Linked DNA regions of Homo sapiens: region 1 is linked to region 2. The links are contacts of gene promoters, found by promoter capture Hi-C in blood cells and fetal thymus (Javierre and others, 2016). All regions are on one chromosome and are shown on one strand. The core of a region is centred on a gene start or on the middle of the fragment in contact, and the rest is flanking DNA. Distances in the headings are between cores, read along the strand shown. Region 1 overlaps RANBP3L (RAN binding protein 3 like). Region 2 holds the start of SLC1A3 (solute carrier family 1 member 3).

Evidence for each region. Contacts are between HindIII fragments. The CHiCAGO score rates a contact against its expected background, and 5 or more counts as called.
Region 1: a fragment that was not itself captured here is called in contact with the fragment with the promoter of SLC1A3 in region 2 in 1 of 17 cell types (M0 macrophages); the score reaches 5.2 in M0 macrophages.

Annotation. Positions count from the first base shown.
Region 1 is chr5:36,262,771-36,268,415 of GRCh38, reverse strand. It overlaps RANBP3L (RAN binding protein 3 like), which reads left to right. Exons shown (of 14, transcript NM_145000.5): 5 at 2,896-2,967; 6 at 3,318-3,457. The region is part of intron 1 of LOC124900962 (a long non-coding RNA gene); the gene reads right to left. Among named protein-coding and RNA genes, the nearest start is that of NADK2, 24 kb to the right of the region's middle. The HindIII fragment of the contact is 4,510 bases long and covers 603-5,112 here.
Region 2 is chr5:36,605,292-36,611,308 of GRCh38, reverse strand. It overlaps SLC1A3 (solute carrier family 1 member 3), which reads right to left and starts at 4,703. Exons shown (of 10, transcript NM_004172.5): 1 at 4,574-4,703; 2 at 2,705-2,980. The coding sequence starts at 2,885. RefSeq lists an enhancer at 4,497-4,596. The HindIII fragment of the contact is 8,493 bases long and covers 1-6,017 here.

The DNA of each region.
Region 1 (5,645 bases), core at 1,608-4,107, 340 kb after region 2:
CATCAGATGTACTCATTTTTATTAATAGAAATAAAAAGATTTTTCTAAATTAGTGATACAGAAATTTTTCCAAAACAGCAAAACTCCAAATGAAAACAAAACAAAAAACCCACTTTCTTACTGACTTTAGTTTGCAATCTGCTTTTAGTGTCAACCTTGTCTCAGAAGCAAATGAGATGTTCATCCGTCACTAACCTCCCAACCTTCCCCCATTCTGGGCCAGGTAATAAAGAGTTTCTAGAACCTCAAGCCTGACACTGACTTTTCAAAATCATTCTTATTAATGATGACTTTTCTTTTTTAGCGATCATAAAATGCTGACACTTTAGAAATAAACAGAGGCCTTAGCAAAGTATGCATCGAAGAATACCTTATGAATTCTAACTTCACAAATTCTGAGTATATGTTTTTACCTTTGGTAGAAAGTTTGAACTTCATGTTTTTTTAGGATTTCACATTTATAACAGTATTATTTTATTTAAGGCAGCCCTATAAAAGTAAAAACAATTTGCATTATTTTACTTACTATTGTCCATCTACATAGTTTATAATGTAATAGCATTTAAAACATGCAATTATGCTTTAGATTCATATTTTAAGCTTAGCATAGAAATCCATTAAAATTTCCACTAATTAAAACATTACTCCTCTTTACTTGAAATTTATAATGTTTTGCTTAGTAAAACTGTTTTATCATAATAAAATATTTGAAATGGTTGGCATTTTCTCCACATTAAAATGATCTCTATTCTCATGTTTTTATTTCTACTAAACAATCAATTGCCTTTTCCAAGTTAAGTTTGCCACTAAGAAAGAAAAATTACAAACTACTCACTTCATTTGAATTGATCCCCCTCTACCCAGGAACTACAGAGTTTTTTCTTTCTTTCTTTCTTTTTTTTTTTTTTGAGACGGAGTCTGGCTCTGTCGCCCAGGCTAGAGTGCAATGGCGTGATCTCAGCTTACTGCAACCTCTGCCTCCCGGGTTTAAGTGACTCTCCTGCCTCAGCCTTCCAAGTAGCTGGGACTACAGGCGCACACCACCCATGCCCAGCTAATTTTTGTATTTTTAGTAGAGATGGGGTTTCACCATTTCGGCCAGGATGGTTTTGATCTCTTGACCTCGTGATCCGCCCACCTCGGCCTCCCAAAGTGCTGGGATTACAGTCGTGAGCCACCATGCCTGGCCTGAACAACAGAGTTTTTCAATGAATAAATCTGTATTCTTATTAATAATTGCAGGCATGACTGAGCAACAGTATATCAAGTAACTTTCAGATGCAGAAGAGACACCTTTTAGTGTCTCTAGTCCTTCTAACCTGACTGACAAGCTCAGACATTAAGAGAAACAGAGATCCTGGCTGGGCGTGTTGGCTCATGCCTGTAATATCAGCACTTTGAGAGGCCAAGGCAGGCAGATCTCTGCAGGCCAGGAGTTCGAAACCAGCGTGGCAAACATGGTGAAACCTGGTCTCTGCTAAAAATACAAAAATTAGCCGGGCATGGTGTTGCACGCCTGTAGTTCCAGCTACTTGGGGCGCTGAGGCAAGAGAATCGCTTGAACCCAGGAGGCAGAGGTTGCAGTGAGCCAAGGTCATGCCACTGCACTCCAGCTTGGATGACAGAGAGAGACTCAATCTCAAAGAAAAAAAAAAAAAGTGAGAGAGACATAGAAATAGAGATCCTAATCCCAGAGGCAAAGGTGTTCTGTTTTATTGTATTTATACATAAAACAAAGGAACGACTTTAAGTTATCTATGCACGTGCTTTAATTCATTTTTTACTGGACACTCACACAAAAAGAAAGATTATCATTCTGTTTTATGTTGTGCAGAATGTTAGTGGTGTTCAGCAGGAGAAAAATATGGCTCTTTTTTTGTTGATGTTCAATAATAAAGATCATAAAAAACATTAAATTGAACTCTGAAGTAGAGAAGGGATTCTACCCCAACATTTATAACACCTTAAAGAATACTTTGAAGAAGCAATTATTCTTTTCTCATTTTCATTAAATGCCAAAGGTTGCTGTTTCTGCAATTTGCAATGAAGAGGAGATCCCTTTGAAATGTATAGAAATTCTATACTCGGAGCCACCACCACAGTCTTACCCCACCAACATGTTTGTAGAAAAATAACTTAGCAGATTTGTCATCTTTACTTCTTTCTTCAGGTATACTCATTAAAAAGTCAGGGAGTGTGGGCAGACTTTGCTAACAGTTTTATAATATTCTATAAGAGCTATATATTAATGCCGGAGGGTTCATTACCAATTCAGATTTTGTAGTCTGTAGAATTTCTGACAGTGCACTATTTAAAGATTCAAAAAAAAGACTGCCTTTTCTGCTAGTCACCTAATTTTCACTTAGATATCTGAAAGTAAACAGAACTATGTAGCAGGACGCATCCGGCAATATCTTTTTTTTTTTTTTTTTTTTTTTGAAATGGAGTCTCGCTCCTGTCACACAGGCTGGAGTGCAGTGGTGCGATTTCAGCTCACTGCAACCTCCACCTCCTGGGTTCAAGAGATTCTCCTTCCTCAGCCTCCCGAGTAGCTGGGATTACAGGCACCTGCCACCACGCCCGGCTCATTATTTTTTGTATTTTTAGTAGAGACGGGGTTTCGCCATGTTGGCCAGGCTGGTCTCGAACTCCTGACCTCAGGTGATCCACCCGCCTTGGCCTCCCAAAGTGCTAGGATTACAGGCGCGAGCCACCGCGCCTGGCTGGCAATCCCATTTTTCGCAGAGCCAGTGCTCCAGAGGGCACTACCTACTACTCTGTTAGTGCCAATTGCGACATCTGCTGGTGAGTTCGGAATGGGATTGTTAAGCCCCAAATAGTGTAGAATCTGACACTCTTCTGTATTTAAAAAAATTTAAATATTTTTTCTTACAGTGAGGAAAAACAATGTTTTTATGACATCAGCTCTTGTGCAAAGTAGTGTTGATATAAAGAGTGCTGAACAAGGTATGTAGCTTCTATTTCAAGAACCTCAGAAATTGTATATTTTACCACCTATATTTTCATCTCCCTATATGTGTGCGTGTGTTGGGGGCATGGAGGTAGGTCAGAGTGACAAAACATGAAGAAATAATGCAAGTAAGCCAGGTTTCATGATCAAAATGAATAGTTATTGGGCAAAAGCTAGGCAGGGTGTGAATGTTGGGGAACTCAATGGTTATTTTGACTTGGATTAATTAACGCTAGTCCCTCATTTAAACATGACTTTAGAAAATAAGAATTATATTAATTAAAAATAGGGAGTAAAGGAATATTTCAGTAAACATATATTTATCCTTTAATTCTATTCTTTTAAGGTCCTGTGAAACATTCTAAACATGTTATTAGACCTGCTATTTTGCAGCTACCTCAAGCTCGAAGTTGTGCAAAAGTAAGAAAAACATTTGGACACAAGGCACTGGAATCTTGCAAGACTAAAGAAAAAACAAATAATAAGGTGAGAAAGCCCAGGATAACGGAACTGACCTCAATCCCTCATCTTTCTTTTTGCAGGTTGTTTGGGGCCCCCATATCCAGAAATAGGAGTTGTCTGAGCTTTGTTTTGTTGTTGGGCTAGATAGCATAAAGCCCTTGGTAAACTTTTCAAAGTTGTACTCTGACATTGGAGAGTTGTAGTCTCACAAATCTGTGGTCTCTCTAAAGTTGTAAAGTTGAGTACTGGGTAGTGGAAATCTGGGGGTCTTGTGCCAGAGCAATGACCCTGTGTGAGAATGGGGACAGCAATGAGGGAGCCAGGGGCCAGAGTCAGTAGTCAAAAAAGAGGCAGGGATTTTCTCTACATCGCCAACTGGTCAACATCACAGTGTATCGTTGCCAGTTTAGGTCATACCAGAGGTTCATTTCAGAGCCAAATTCCAGTATAACAGGAGCAGAGAACTCCCTATACAGTGTAGTTGGGAGGGTTTGGGAAGCCTCTAGAGACAGATAAGAATTCTAACTTCCAACTATGTAGTGTCTGAATCACTCTTTGTAGGCCTTTCTAAACAGACAGTAACTTACACAAGCCGTGCAGATATGGGTTTGGGGATATATTCAATTGCTGTAGTGCTACCTGTCTTCCAGCAGAAGCAGACACAGGAGGAATAGGACTCAAGATAGGTAGGTTGGAATTTGAGAGTTATTCCATCTTAGCCATTTGTTTCCAGCTGAACTACTGAGGATTGGTCACATAGTTTCGCTTTGTTTTCCCTTAGTGAACATAAGGACAGAAACACGGAAGTGTAAAAAAATACCAGATTGGTACTAATCTTGCCTCTGCTGCTATCTTTGTTTATCTAAACAAAGCACCCATTCAACATCTTTTTATATCAGCAAAGTAAGGGACTTGAACTTGATCAGCACTTTCCAATATTTTTATATTCCTAAACTCTTTACTTTGTAAGATATTATTTGGAGAGATCCATTATGAATTTAAAAAATCATTTCATCATTTATGCATGCTATATAAGTAATTTTTAAGTAAAACATGTCTTCAATTTTAGATAAGTATATTATTGTTTTCACTTAAATATAATGTAATAATTATCACCATGTTACATAATTCCTTACTTTTATTTAAGAAGTGAAGTGGCCAGGCGTGGTGGCTCACTCTTTTAATCCTAGCACTTCGGGAGGCCGAGATGAGTGGATCTCTTGAGCTAAAACGTTCCAGACAAGCCTAGGCAATATAGTAAAACACTGTCTTTACAAAAAATACAAAAATTAGCTGGGCATGGTGGCATGTGCCTGTAGTCCTAGCTTGAACCCGGGAAGTGGAGGTTGCAGTGAACCGAGATGGTACCAGCCTGGTGACAGAGCCAGACTGTCTCAAAAAAGAAAAGAGAAAAAAGAAGTGATGCATGGTGTTTAACTTGTTTTAAATTATGTAATAGAAAGTATAATATGTTGACTAATTTCTAAAAAGTTATATTGCATTTGATTTTAAAATGGCATGCACTATAAATATAGAGCAAGATTTTAATTACATGTTATGACATCAAAAATACATCAATATTTCTTTCTTGGCAGAATTTTTGTAAATATTGCATTGCATATTTTAAAATAAAATTTATTAATATATTTCTTCCATTTTCTTCTTAAATGATCCAAGCTTAAGAGAAAATTTCAAGCTATTGTTTATATTTATTTTTGAATAAATTATAAGGTCTAGGGAATAAACCTTATTTCCAGTTATTGAAAAGCCCTACTGTATATGCCCATCATTAAAAAGAAAATTTAATGCCCATCATTAAATTTTCCATTTATTGATCTTTGAAGATCCAGAGACACACTGTATATAAGATCCTATGTAAGAATTTTGACCAAATGAATGTAATTTAAAGATTTTGTGAAAACTATCTCTAGGTGGATTTTGTAGAACCATTATCTTTATATTTCTTATTATCTTGTATATCAAAATCAGATAAATTATTTTCATCCTATCATTAATCAATGGTTACTTACTATGTATAGATTAAACAATATATGCCTAAATAACTATTTTAACCAACATAGGAGTGAAAACTACCATTTTGGCTGAGAGATACATTATCTGAATGACTAGGTAATGAGCATGTACTTCGATCTTTGCCAACCATGGCACATGCTCTCTTGATACATATTTGTCAGTTGTCAAACTCTTGTTA
Region 2 (6,017 bases), core at 3,454-5,953:
CCCAGTGATTTTTTTTTTTTTTTTTTTTACTAAAAGCAATAAAAACCTAGGAATTTGAAAACTAGGTAATAACTATAGCTCTTCTCATCTCTCATCTTGGGGGAAAATAATTATCTCCTTCTTCCTTGCTAGCATCTTTCTTGTTTTTTCTTATGCTACAGCAAATAAATTAAGAGTTGGTGTACAGACACATTCTTTTCCTATCTCTTAGGACTGGTAGACATGGAACCCAGTGACAAGCTAAATAGAGCCTTTATATTCACTGGGTTCTTGATGGAAGACACACTAACAGATAACTGAAGGGTTCTTCCTTCTCTCCTAAATCTGTTTGCTCCTAAGTTGTCTATTTGCTATTCCAAGTCTTTGATGTAGACTCAGTGGTCTCTTTGACTGTCAATGAGCTCTTTTTATGTGTTTCTTTGTTAGTGCCTTCTTCTTGCTGCTTCTGCCTCCTCAGTTTCCATTAGTAAAGCCAACCATGAGGGCACCCGGCCAACTTATCTACCCTAGCTCAGCCAACTCTTATTGCAATTCTCACAAATCTTAGGAAAGCCCTCACTGGGTGAGGAATGATCCCAGAACTCCTAGAGAAAAATAGACTAGGGATGATCCCAGAACTCCTAGAGAAAAACAGACTTTTAAATCCTGGCATTATCTTCTTTTTATTAGAGATGTTATTGCTTTGTACTAATGACTTAGGAACTTCCTTCTCCATCAATCTGTCTTCCATGTTCAAGTTTTATGAATTTCCATTCCTGTATTCTTGAATGGAAACATTTCTGTCTTAGAAATTCCACTCTTCTGGTGTTTACAACACCATTTTGAATGGTGTTTCTCCATCTTTTTCAAATATACTCCAGTATTACTGAGCTCTATTTATTATACGTATAGGATCATGAATTATAAATGAGTATGTGTTAAATGAATGAGAAGGAAGTGGCTTAATGGTCTATAGGAGAACTGTAAGTTTTCTTTTGAGGTAACCGGGTAAATCATGCAGTTAAATGACAATGCTGTGTGAATGCACTGCTAGCTAACTGGCCTTCATCAACTCATGAGGGTATTTCTCTTCCTGGCATCTCTTAAAAGATGTCAACTAGCAGCAGAGCAGAGGAAGAATAGAGTGGTTAAGAGAATGGCCTCCGGTGCTAGACTGAATTTGACTTCCAGCTCTAGAGTTTACTAGTGTTGTCACTTTGGGCAAATTGCTTGATCTCTCCACAGTCAGTTTCATCTACAAAATGAGGAAGATCATAGTAATCATACCTTCTCACTCGCTTCATAGGCTTGTTTGAGGATTAAGTGAGCTAATATAAACAAAACTCCTACAGAGTAGCTGGAATAGTACTATATAAATGTTTGCAATTATTATTATGCAGCTATTGCTTGGCTTGGCAATGACTTTGATTCAGAGTGACAAATGAGGCAAGCAGACTGTATTTTGCATTGACTTCCAGGACAATGATGTGGGACTGAAATATTTCACCCAGGAATATATTCAAGCCTGGAAACCTACTGTGGAAAGCCATTACTTCTCTGGGTCAGTTAGGACATGTTCTCTTTGAATATCTCTAAATTAATTGAACCATCATTAATCACCAGTGATTACTAATGGAAGACAATGATGTTAAAATGGGATGTATCTAAAATCTTGTGACAAACTCTCCTGCTATACTTCATTTGTCTACAATTTAAGAATTCAATTTTCTTGAAAAAAGTTATATTTACACACTACAGAATTTTCTTAATCTTTATTAAATCATTACCTCTTTAAAGTTGATGGAAATCTTGGCAAACTCCAAAGTAGAGATTAAAACGGTACTGAATGCCTCTTTTTTGGTGGCAAATTGGTAGGTTAAGTTGGAATATTTTTACAACCTGGCATTGGCGTATATGTTTGTCAATCTAAGGATTTCTGTATTGGTTTGGTCAAAAATTCCAAATAAGTAGGTTTTTTCAGCTATATTTTAAAGTAGGATCAATGCCACCCATAAGTAATAAACTATAACTTTTAAGATCAATAAACAAAACAAAACAATAATATTTTATTAGTACAGATTGCTGTCAACCCTGCTAAATTAGTAAGAGATGGAAATGATTCAAAAAAAGGTATAGCTGGTTATGGCAGGCTCTGCAAAGCAATGAATGAAAGAGATCTGTGTTAACATTTTCCCCAATCTACCTTTCCCAGTTGCTGGGTGAGAGAGTGCAAACACATAAAATATTCGGTCTCTGTGCCTAAGCGTTGATACTCAGCTTCAAGTCAGCACCAGTTAGAATATAATTACTATTTGGAACCAACATGTCATTTTAGGTGTACTAATTGTATAAATTAGTTTTAAGTGCAACTGACATTGTATATAATTACATTTTGGCCAAATCTAGCATGCTTGCTTTGTCATGCCTAATGATTAAATGATCACTTCCTTATCCTTACATGAAATGGGAAAATATTTTATTTATTTTTCTTCCTCACACAATTGATTTGCATAATGCCTAATGATGCCTAATGATGTGTTTACTATATATTGCTCCAAACAAGCCAAAACAGTCATTTTTATGGAGAAAAATCATCAAGTTCAGAGGAAAGCCTAGGCTACCATTTTGATACCTACAACTAGTTCATCTGATAATATTCCCCGGGCAGCCAGATGCCCCAGAGAAACAAGATACAGGTTTTTTTGTTTTTAATCAAATGACTCACCCACAATGACAGCGGTGACTGTGAGCAGCACAAAAGCATTCCGAAACAGGTAACTTTTAACATCCTCCTTTGTAATGTTCTGCACTTTCTTCTTGGCCAAAAGTGTGCGTTTACGGACTCCCTGCTGGAATCTCTCCATCCTGCCCCCCATCTTGGGCTCTTCTCCATTGCTTTTAGTCATATTTTACTTTTCTAGGAGGGTCTCTTCTTTGCACTTCAGTGTCTGGGAATCACCCACAGAAAGCCAAACCTCCTCTTTGGTATTAGAAAACACAACTAGAATGGGAGAAAAAGAGACATGAGTTATAGCCTCCAGGGGTGAGAAATCAGTGCTGCTCCACACCAGGCAAGCTCTTGGCAAATTGCATAATCTCAGCAGGAATCAAGGACTGGAGAGCCACAATACCAGACCTCAAGGTTGCAGTGTGCATATTTTAGTGGACCACGTGTGAGAAATGTGCATAAATTCGGAATATATTCTATTTTCTTTTTAAAAATCCGTCCTTCCCCTTCCAATGAGGCTATAAAAGGGTTCTTCAGAGCTAGATCTGACTGAGAACCCCTATTCCCACCCTCCCCCGCAGAACCCAGCTGATGCCTTGCACAACGTACACAATCAGTAAATGTCCAATTGAACTGAATGCACAGAAAGTATTCAATCATTACTTGACAAATTATGCTGTATACATGGTTGAAAGCATAACCAGGTCAATAAAAATAATTAAGATACTGATAGGTGGGAGTTGTCTCTGTTACATGCAGTAAAGTAACCAGCTATTTTCTTCATTAAGAAAAAAATATAATAATATCTACTAGTAAATATGGTCATAAAAAGAACACAAGTGCCCACAGTACATGGGAAATACATGTGACTATTTTACAGGGTAATTTTTTCATTTTTTTTCCATGAAATAAGCAAAGTGCTCTGGGCACATCTATAAATCATCTGAAATCACAATTCAGCTTCGTTTATCACAAGTAGAAGTATGAAGTAGTGTTTTTCTTTGTGACACACATGCTGGAATCTTCCGAGGAAACTATCGCTGACTTTTTAGCGTTTTAAAATTTAGGATTTCTAGAACAGATGAGATGAAACCAATTTTCATTCCAAACATTACAGCTTGTGGTTTCTGGTTTCTTTAAAGCACTCACGCTATTTAACTACATTTCAGTAAATCTCTTTCCTGGTGGAAATCAGCTGTTCTGAAAAATCAAGGGATTCCTCCTGGTGCTTTACAGGAGCTCTAATCCATAGCCCTTCCCATAATCAATCCGAGTGAAAACCAGCCGTACCATGGATGTGTGTCGCTGCCAACGCAAGCAGCCAGCGTGTGCGCCTGTGGGGGAGGTAACTGGAAACCAAAGGACTCCTCGCAAATGACTTCTCGCAATCCCAGTGCAGGAAAAAAAAAGACTTGTCTTAACAGTTTGCCTTTTAAATAAAATTGCAAGTTGGGGTCAGTGATACTAAGACTTCTAATTTGTTTAAGACTTCACACTGGATTAAATGCTTAGGGAGAAGTGAAGACCGGGAAATAGGAGAGACCAGATTTTTTTTTTTTTTAAACTAATAGCTCTGATTCCTCTTACCAGTCACTTTTAAGCAGATCCGCTCAACCTTGATCCTTTTCTAGATCTCGCGCCACAATCTGCCCCCAATCCACCCCGAATGACTCAACTCCGAATTAACAGCGGACCCGGCATAAACAGACACCACACTCTCACGACGTGAGATGACTAACAAGGACTTTATCTACCAAAATGGCTAGCCTTGATTCAGGCTACTCCTCTGCTTGGAAGGCAAAATACATCGGCAGAGAAGTGAAAGGAGAAATTAAACCCAGCAGGAACACAGAATGTGACACTTACCTTTTCTGATTTTGTAAGGGGTGGAAGATATCAAGCAGTAACGAGGTGAATTCCCCAGCAGGTACAACGGAGCAACAATCCGCAGCGCGCGTAAGCAGGCAGGCTAGCCCTGACAGTGTGCATGTGCTCTGAAACTGCAAGTTACTATCAGGGCAACTTAAGAAAAGGGGAGGAGTCTGTGCCCGGGAAAGGAGGAGTGGGGAATGGAAACCGCACAGGGAGGAGGGGGAAACCCCGAGGTTTCTGGAATATTGATTAATCTTGGCACACCAGAAGCAGGCTTGCTGGCTTTGTTTTGCTCCTTAGACCACTTTCACGCTTTGTCAGTTCACTGTCATTAGAAATGCAAAACCGGGACTAGGAAGAATTGAAAAATAAAGCGCACACAATCGGAAAGCTGAAAGTCTTGATTAGAACGTTTCAAAGACTTTTCTAAGGCTAAATTTAATTACCTCACATTATTGCATGTTTCCTCCCTTTCAGGGAAGACGAGGGTGTGCTCTTTAGCCTGGTTGTACAACTGTTACGAGAAAGTTCCTTTTTCGAATCGGGGAATTAACTGACGTTTCTTGGGAAGACACTGAATGCAGACAAGTATGTAGAAAAAAAATAATGCTTACTACGATTCTCTAAATTTGTCTAAAGTTAGGGACATGCCTCTATTTCAGCAGTTGAAACTTCAAAACTTCATTTTAACAAACCTAATTTAGCTCACACTGCCTGTGTTGCAAAGACGGAAAAGGTAGCAAATGTAAAGAGACTGGAATTTTTGCCAAACTAGAAAATGAAAAGCATTTTAAGACCAAGAGTGCAAAGTACACTTGAGATTTGGTGATTCAAAAGATAGGTTGCTGTTCAGATGTCTCCATTTTAAAGGATGCTAAATGTTCTCCCTACCACACACAACTTTTTTAGAGCTAAAAAATTCTCATTGCCTTGAGAAGGTAACTTGAGCTTCTAGTCCACTTTTCTTAAAAGAAAAATAAATTGTGAAAATAGATATTAGAAAATAAAAAAAAATTTTTTTGAGGTGACTTATTCCCAAAACTTAAATCTTCTTTAGAAGGAAGAAAATGGTTCATTAGAAACAAAAATTTATACCAGAATCACAGCCTGAGGTTTGGATTCTTGTTCACTGAATTTAATATTCCCCATGCAAAATATGCTCAATTCTTGGTCTATTATTCAACAAGAAAGTATGTCTTTTTTCCCCTCAATACAAATCTCTGGAGATCATAAAGAAATATCTCCTTTCACCCTCAACTGTATGTCCTTTTAAACAGCTACTGGTTGGAAAGCAATGGTGAATCATGTCAATGCTTTAAAATTACAAATCAGCAGCAATTATAACAGCTTTCTAACATGCTATCATTTTAAGAACTTACTGAAAGTACATGCTTTTGACATTCCCAGCCCTCAGTGACCCTTCCCTTCCTCTGATCTC